Linked DNA regions of Homo sapiens: region 2 is linked to region 1. Evidence: promoter capture Hi-C in 16 types of primary human blood cells and fetal thymus (Javierre and others, 2016). All regions are on one chromosome and are shown on one strand. Each heading gives the region's core, a stretch centred on a gene start or on the middle of the fragment in contact. The rest is flanking DNA. Distances are from core to core; before and after follow the strand shown.

What was found. Contacts are between HindIII fragments. The CHiCAGO score rates a contact against its expected background, and 5 or more counts as called.
Region 2: a fragment that was not itself captured here is called in contact with the fragment with the promoter of KIAA1671-AS1 in region 1 in 1 of 17 cell types (total B cells); the score reaches 5.0 in total B cells.

Annotation. Positions count from the first base shown.
Region 1 is chr22:25,109,679-25,114,164 of GRCh38, forward strand. It overlaps KIAA1671-AS1 (KIAA1671 antisense RNA 1), which reads right to left and starts at 3,014. Exons shown (of 5, transcript NR_038941.1): 1 at 2,939-3,014; 2 at 2,509-2,745; 3 at 1,280-1,319; 4 at 323-440. The region is part of intron 6 of KIAA1671; the gene reads left to right. RefSeq lists enhancers at 969-1,831, 1,832-2,693. The HindIII fragment of the contact is 1,710 bases long and covers 2,788-4,486 here.
Region 2 is chr22:26,077,308-26,081,398 of GRCh38, forward strand. No RefSeq gene overlaps it. Among named protein-coding and RNA genes, the nearest start is that of LINC02559, 73 kb to the right of the region's middle. The HindIII fragment of the contact is 4,962 bases long and covers 1-4,091 here.

The DNA.
Region 1 (4,486 bases), core at 1,764-4,263:
TGGTGTTGGACATTTAGTTACCTCTTGATAAATATTAGCCACCACTGTCATCCCCTGCTGGGCTGTGAGCCCTCTGCTCTTAATCTCTATGCAGTGCCTGGCTCAGAGTAGGCACCCTCTGAATCTTTATTAAATGAATGAATGAAAGAATGAATGAGGCTGGATGTGGTGGCTCATGCTTGTAATCCCAGTACTTTGGGAGGCTGAGGCAGGTGGATCGCTTGAGTCTAGGAGTTCGAGACCAGCCTAGACAACATGGTGAAACCCTGTCTCTACAAAAATTACACACAAAAAAAAATTAGCTGGGCATGGTGGCACATACCTGTAGTCCTAGCTACCGAGGAGGCTGAGGTGGGAGGATCGCTTGAGCCTGGGAGGCCAAGGCTGCAGTGAGCTGTGATCATGCCACTGCAGTCCAGCCTGGGCAACAGAGTGAGATCCTGTATCCAAAAAAAGAAGAAGAGAGACAGGGAGAGAAAGAGAATGAATAGCTGTAAGGACTGGGAATACATAGAAAAGAAAGAGATCTGTTGGCCATATTGCCAGAGAGTCCTTTGTGATAAACTTTCTCAAGTGAGGCCCTTTGACCAGTGTCTAGAAAACAAATATTTGTTCAAAACTGAAGTGAGGTGGTGGTGGAAAGGACATAGGATGCATTCTGAGCGACCTGGGTTTCAATTGTGTACTTGGTGTCCGAACAATAAATATTTACAGAGCCCTGACTCTGGGCCAGGTACCATGTCAGACCTGGGAAAACCTGGGGTGGGAGCAGCTCTGGTGCATGCCTGGTGACATCCTTGCTGTGTGACCTTGGGCAAGTGAATCTATGTCTCTGAATCTGCATTTCCTTGTCTGTAAAAGTAGTGGGGTTGGGGGGACATGGATCCCTGCTAGAAGGAGAAACCTCCTTTAACAGGTGTGCCTGACCTCCAGGATCCAGCTGCTGCCCACCCCCTTCTAACAACCCCTGACATGTTTGGGATCTCCAGGCAGAGGACAGAAAACCTGCATGGGTCAGATGAGCGGGGCCTGGCCGAGGACAGTGGGTGTTAGGGTCTAGTCGTACCCCCAACCCCTAGTACTCCAGCCCTGTAAGGGTTAAAACCCAGGGAGCTCACGTGACCTAGTGTAAACCATGAATCATTCCCATTGCTCCCAGTGCTGAGCCTGCTGCCCAGGACAGGGCAGATGCTGTGCCCCGGGTTGCCATGGCAACTCCGCCTGTACTGAAATACAGCCCTCCCCAGTCCTTCCTGGGGGACCTCAGAGGCTGTCTCACCTGGATCAGTGTTGCCTTCCAGAGAGGGAGGGAGAGACAGCTGAAAAGGAGAGAGAGAGGAGAGACGCTTAGAGACAAGCAAGTGGAAGTTGAGACACAGGGAGAGGGAGGAGAGCGAGGCTGAGAAATCAACAGAGAAACAGACCACGAGAGGGAGACAGACTGACAGCCGACCAGAGGTCCCAAGACGCTGCCTGTAACCTTAGAGGCAGAAGCCGTTTCCCAGCAGTGCTAACCTTCCCGGGGCTGCCAGATCGCCGACATACACGCACACACACACAGAGTGCACACACATGCACACACGTGCAGCCGCATTTCCTGGTGCGCTTGCTGTGAGGGCACAGGGGTGGGTAGGCTGGCAGGCACGTGAAGTTGCCATCAGCCCCGAGGGACCGTGAGCGAGTTGGGACTTGGGGGAGAAAAAAATGGGGGCGGACGTCAGCTCCCTGGGCGGCCGCCGCCACCGCCTCCGCCTCCCCGAGGCCCCTCCTGCATTCCTGGGCAGCGAAGCCCCTCGCTAAGACGGGGGCTGATGTCATCCCGGGCTGCTCAGCCAGGGGACCCGGGGGCCCTGGTGGCTGCCTCCGGAAGTGAGCTAGCCGCCTGCCGGCCGACAGGTTTGGAATCTCCAGCCAGAGGACAGAAAACCTGCATGGGTCAGGTGAGCGGGGTCTGGCCGAGGGCAGCCGGGCAGGGGGCAGCAGGGTGCGGCAGCTTGCCCACCGGAACCTCCCAGGGTGCACCTCAGGGGGGCTGCCTACCTGAAGGGAAGTGAGGACGAGGGTGCCCAAAGGCCGCCCCCTCCACCCCCACCCCCATCCCCATCCCCCGCCTTTCGGGACCGTCACGCCCTGGAGTGAGTGCAGCCGGCTTGTTCCTCAAAGCTCCTTGTCTCGGCCGATCAGCTGGGTGAGCCCTGGAACTGGAACCTGGACTGCCCAGTGTGTTGACTTTATAACTCCGCTGGGGTGGACTCCCAGCCTGGCACTTAGCTGCCTCTTAATTCTGAGCGGCACCCGTGGATGCAGCCGGCTCCTGGCTCAGGGATGTTTACTTACCCTTGGTTTGCCTGAAGAAAGCTGCTGTTTTTAATTTTTTTTCCTCCAAGCAAGCCCAAAACTTCCATGAGCAAAAGAGTCCAAAGAGGCAAGAGGACACTGGCGTTTTAATTGCTCTCTCCCTCCCTAACTTCCTTCTTCCCTCTCCTCCTGGCTGGCCCCATGGATTACCTGGGAGATAAACTCACAGTGGCCCAGACCCACATGACCCAGTGGATGGGCACCGTGAGGAGGTCCTTCCAGGAAGCCCTCAATTTGGTGACCACCACGGTGGGCCACGAACGGACGAGTGCAGAGTCGGCCAGCCGGACCCCCTTCAAGCGTACTTCCTCCTTCCGACACCTGGCTTCCCGGAGTCGGGAATCCTTCCGCCGCTTCTCTGCTCGCAGCCAACAGAGATTTTCTTCACTGAGGAAAAGGCATACAGATTCGGAACCGCCAGATATTGTAAGCTTATTATGTTTTAAAAAATATTAAAACAACACTGAAAGCTCCTCCCCTCCAGTCCTCCCAGGGAGGGGGTCCCAGACATCAAACCGGGGAAGTTACTTCTTCCAGAATAGTTGTCAGTCAAAGCCCAGGCACTTCCTGTCCCCTGTACCTGGGAAAGAGGCACGTAGCAATAATTCCTCTCTCCTGAAGTCAGTCAGGACATTTTTGCTGGAGTCGACGTCTGTGTGGACAGGGCCAGCACGTGAGTTGGGCTGAATTTGCCAGTTGATTTATGTTTAAGTGTGAACACCCCAACCCCCGACACGAAAGCTCATCCTTCTCCCTATTTTTAGGGTGGATTAGTGGCACCTGCCTCATCTCCTCTCACCCTCCTAGGAAGCACAAGTGGCGGTGTCATGTGCACGCTGAGTTGTAGCTTTTGTCGTTCCACCGAGCTTTCATTGGATTGCCAAGGAAAGGGTCTTAGGAGACCGAGGTGTGGTGGGCGAGTTTGCCCGCTGGCCGTGAACCTTGGGTTTGGTGTGAGTGGGCCAGGGAGGGAGGCCTTGATTTCTTACTCAGGCAGGCTCGGGAGGGCTTGGATTGGGACAGCAGGGTGGAATGACAGCTAATGATTAAAACCTTGGCCTGTGTCCTGCTAGGCGACAGTGCAGAAACAATCGTAAGGTCCTTCTGATGATTTGGAGAGGTGGGACTGGGCCCAGAAAGCGAAAGTGCCTACTGTGGGGGAAGCACAGTGAGTGAGTGGCAGAGCCAGGTCCCGAACCCCAGGCTCTGACCTCCCCATTCACGGCTCTTTGCAGTCCAGCTCCCAGCAGATGTTCTCCCCAGACCCTCCCAATTAATTCAGGGCTGCCCAGGTCACTGACCAGACCTGAGCCTAAAGAGAGGGCCTGCCATTTTCACATAGGAGACTTCTGCCACCTGACTGTGTTGGCCCAGTTTATGGGAGCACTTGAGGACAGGCGAAGGGCTAAGCCAGCCCCTTTTTCTGGGTTCCTCCTAGCCAGGAGTGCTATAGTCATTAAGGGACCCAGCATTTAGGGAGGAGCCCTGAGCTGGCCCTCCCTACACTCGAGGTGGCAGGGCTCACAGCTGCCCTGCCAGGTGCAGGGGCTCAGTATCCCCTCTGCTGACCCAGAGGTGTGACTCACCCCAGGTCACGCAGCAGCCAGAGCAGGCAGTTGCAAATGCAAGGCAGGAGCCGAGCACTTGGGCATGACACGTGTCTCGTTCACAGGACGTCTCCTTCACAGTGGGTCTGTGCTTCTTTGTGGCCCAGAACAAATTAGTGGGGCTTGGATTTATGAGACAGATTCCCCAACCTCTGGAAGGTGTGACTTGCCACAGGGAAAGAAGGCCCCTCATTCATTCTGTCTCCCTCTGTGTGTATCTCTGTCTCTGTGATGTGTCTTTCTGCCTTGCTCTGTCTCTGTTTGTTTCTCTGTCACTCCTGTTCTCTCTCAGGGTATGGGGTTGGTGACAGGCAGGCTCTGTTGGCATCCCTCTTTCCCCACCCTGGGGAGTGGTGTGACCATGGGCATTGGCATGAATCCCCTAGGCGTCTTACCCTGTGTTACAGGTTGGTGCCACTGGCAGGAGTGGCCTCTCCAGCTGGTTGAATAAATGAAGTTGGGTGGTGCAGAGAACCATTCCGTGTTGCGTCGAGATGCCACCAAGAGTGTAAATACATGCT
Region 2 (4,091 bases), core at 388-2,887, 970 kb after region 1:
CAGCTTTGAACTGTGTCTTTCAGGCATCCTGGGTTTGAACTGGGTCGCCAACATCCTCCCTGGGAGCAGCTGCAGGGGTTTCTGAAAGGATGACCTCTTTTTAGCACAGAGATTATTCAAGGTGCTTAGAAACAGTGGGATGAGTTCAGAAATCAGTTCTTGCTACTTCTTTACCTAGGGAAACCAAGGCTGGGAGATGGAAAGCAATTGGTATGGGGTTGCTAAGCAGAACAACAACAGAGCCAACTGTCATCTGCCCACCTTTCCACAGCACCTGGAGACTGTCATGGCTATTTCTGTATATCCACTGGTAGACAAAGCAGTTAGATTGCAATAGATTTGGGATAATCACACAAAAAATGACAGAGCGCTCACTTAGTGGTTAAGCTCCTTCATGACACCCTTCATGGCTCACAACACAAAAATTAGAATACAGAAGATAAATATGTTAGCTAAGGTTTCTTGACCACTGACTAGATACCAAGAGCTCTCCTAAATGTTTTATATTCATGTCCTCATTTACTACTCCCAATGGCCCATTGAGGTGGCCAGCACCCTTTTACAGATGGGGAAACTGGGGATGGCAGAGGTTACAAGATTTGCCCAAGGTCACATTGCTGAGATGTGACAGAGTCAAGACATAACCCTGCTTTTCTAATGCAGAGCTTGTGCTCTACACTATTTGGTTATCCTGTCCCTTGTTCCACAAATATTTAGCGAGGACCAGTCTGTACAAGAAGCTGTTTTGGGTGCTAAAAAGTCAAGGATGAATGAGATACAGACCCCACCTTCAAGAAGCACATTGTCATTTGGGAAAGAAATACATATAAACAGATAATTGCTAAGTTATCTGTGATCAGAGCTAAACAAGGGAACTATACACTTTTGGGTTTACTTTTTCAAAGTGCTTATATCATTCAATCTATGATTACATGTGGACACACACATACGTACACACACACACACACACACACACACACTCCACCAAAGAAACCAAGGTAGGTATTATCTGCATTTGACAGATACAGATGCTGAAGCCCAGAAAAGATAGAGAACTGGCTCAGGTAACAGACAAAATTGGTATCATGCCCAAGTCTCCAGCTTCTAGCTTGGGTTCTTTCTCCACCAGACCACCAGGAGCATCCAAACAGCCTCCTGGTGGCCAGAACCAGTCCAAATGCTGAACATTAATAAGAGATGCTACAGAGAGAGACTGCTCCATTTATATTGTTCATCTGTGAATCCTCCTTAGTTTCACTGAGAAGGACATCAAAGAAGAGAATTCTGGATTCAGTAGAGGTTGAGTTAAGTCATTGGAAGACCTTGTTGGGGTCCTTTGATCTTAGTCTAAGACATTTAGAACAAGGGCTTGTTTGGGCTTATTTGAAGGGATTCACTCTTCTTGGTCTTCATGTTTTGGCCCTGAAATCCATCAGATGGAATTTTTGGATTTGTAATCTTAATGGTCTAACCCATGAGTTTGCCAACATGTTTTGTAATTTTCACCCTTTCCTTCATATCTTCCTCCCAGCCCCATCCTCCCTCAAGCATATGCCTGTTTCCTGAATAATGAAGGATACCTTATACTCTGCAGCTTTAATCTTACCGCTATTTCTTGAGAAAATGAGTTTTGGCCTTTATTAACTGCTCAGTAACTGGGCACATATTTCCCACTGTGATCAGAACAAAAAACTAGCCTTGAAGATAAACAAGAAGAGTGTAGACTGGGGGGATGTCTTGCGGAATTATAAAGTGAGTAAGGAGGCATTCAGACTCCCCCTGAAGATGCTATTTAATTTGTGGTAAGGCTGATAGTGGTTATGCTAGAATGAACATTAGGGGAATGTTGCTCTGTGACTTAAGTGCTTAACTCTTTAAGAATGCCCATCACTGTCCAAGGTACTGACCGAGATATTGCAGAGTTCAAATTGTTGATAATTTCCAAGGCCTTTCACATTCCAGGTAGGGCATAGAACAATGTCCTGGCCTGAGAGTGGGTGTAAGTGTTCATGGCTGAAAACGCAGAAGAAGATATGAATTGAGATTGCAAGCCTGTTATTGATTCCGGTGACATTGGGCAACTCTCTCAACCTCTCAAAACTCTGTTCTGTCTATGAAGGAAAATGTGCTACCCACTCCACAGGGATAGTCAAAAGATGCAATATCATTAAATATATTTCAAAGCCTGGTTTTGTGCCCTAAAAATGTGATGATGATGATGATGATGATGATGATTATGACGACGATGATGACAGCATAAAACTTTCAATAATATTGAGGGTTGTGTGCCTGCCAAAGTTCTAATGGCTTCACAAGTATGAATTCACTTAGTTGTCATAAAATTTCTTTATATTATTTGGAGATATTATTATGCTCATTTTATAGATAAGGTACCCACAACACAGAGAGATTAAATCATTTTCCCAGACTCACCCAGTTAATGGAGTACATCCCAAACACATTGTGTATAGTTATTATCGTGAAAAAAATAAAAGATCATAAACACATATTTTGAATTCCCGCCTGGAGCCTCAGCACTGCCCAGAATGGGATCCTAGACTTTCATTCTCTCCAAAGGGGAGCTCCATGACTATTTCCCAAGACTAATCTCCATGTCAGACATGAGATTGTTCTGAAACAGTTGCCCTATCCTGTCACCTTCACAACTTGAAACCCTCAATGACAATCATCCTCATAAGACCATGTTCAAACACCTTAGCCTGGCATCCAGGACTACTCAACATAGGACTTTTCTCTTTAGATGCTTCCTTCTCTCCTCAGTTGACATTCAAGGCACCCCAAATTTCTCCCCACTCTCTGAACATGCCATGACTTTCCTACTGCACGGTCTTGATGTTGTTTCCTCATCAGGAATGCCCTCCCTTGCCTAACAGTATAACTCCTATTCAGCCTCAGGAAGTCTTCTTTGATTTTTTGCTTCCTCCCTTGTGCTTCTAGATCCTAACACTTTAACTATTGTTAGGAATGTCTGTCCTTTTTCCCTCAGAATTTCCCACTCAGAGAAATTCTAAGGCCAGGCATACCTTATTTATCTCTCTATCCAGAAAACTTAACTCAGGGATTGTCATTTACATGTATGTATGTTTACAAACATATGTACATTTGTTTATATGAAAGGATGAATGTGGCTCTTCCCAGAAGGAAAAGAAGGGAGGTGTTAGAGACTTTTCTTTATGAAAAAGATTAAAAATAGCACCATAGTTTCAGATTTAAAAGGCTGTGCTTAGCAGTTGATATCTCAGCACAGAACAACAGAAAGCTCTAGAGCTTGAAAGCTGGTAGTTTCAAGTTGAACGTCTTTCTCTGCATATGCCAGCTGTGACCTGGGAAAGCCTCTTCCCATCTCTCAGCCTCAGTTTCCTGGTCCGTAAAACCAAGACGATCATATTCTACTTGGTGGGATCTCTGCAGAGAGCAAATGGGAAATTGGAATCAACTCATGTTTCTAACAATAGAAGAATAGATATAATGGAATATTATGCAGCTGTAAAAAATGAACAAACTACAGGCACACACATCAGAGGAGAATGGGTATAATGGAACATTATGCAGCTGTAAAAAGTGAATAAACTACAGCTACACACATTAATGGGGATGAATCTCAGAAACTTAATATTCATTCAAAGAGATAAATCCCATAAAAATCCAAAATATATAAGTCCATGTATATAAAGTTCAAGAACAATCAAAACTAATGCTATATTGAGAGACAGGAGAGCATAGCCATTATGGACTCTGGGGCCAAAAGTGGGTTCATGACTGAGTATTCCCTTTTTCTAGCTCAGTGACCCTAATGAGTTACCTAACCTCTCTGTACCTCAGTTTCTTCATTTAAAGAATGTCGAAGATAGCAGTGGTTCCTACCTCAAAGAGTTGTTGTGAGGATTAAATGAATTAATATATGTAAAATACTTAAAAGAGTACCTGGCACAGAACAAACACTATGTAAATGTTAGCCCTTATTATTATTTTTGACTAGTTGTTGTTATTACCTTTGTGATTACTATCATGATTTAGGAACATATACAAGATGGTTAAACTGTATGAAAAACAAGGGAATGATTAAAACA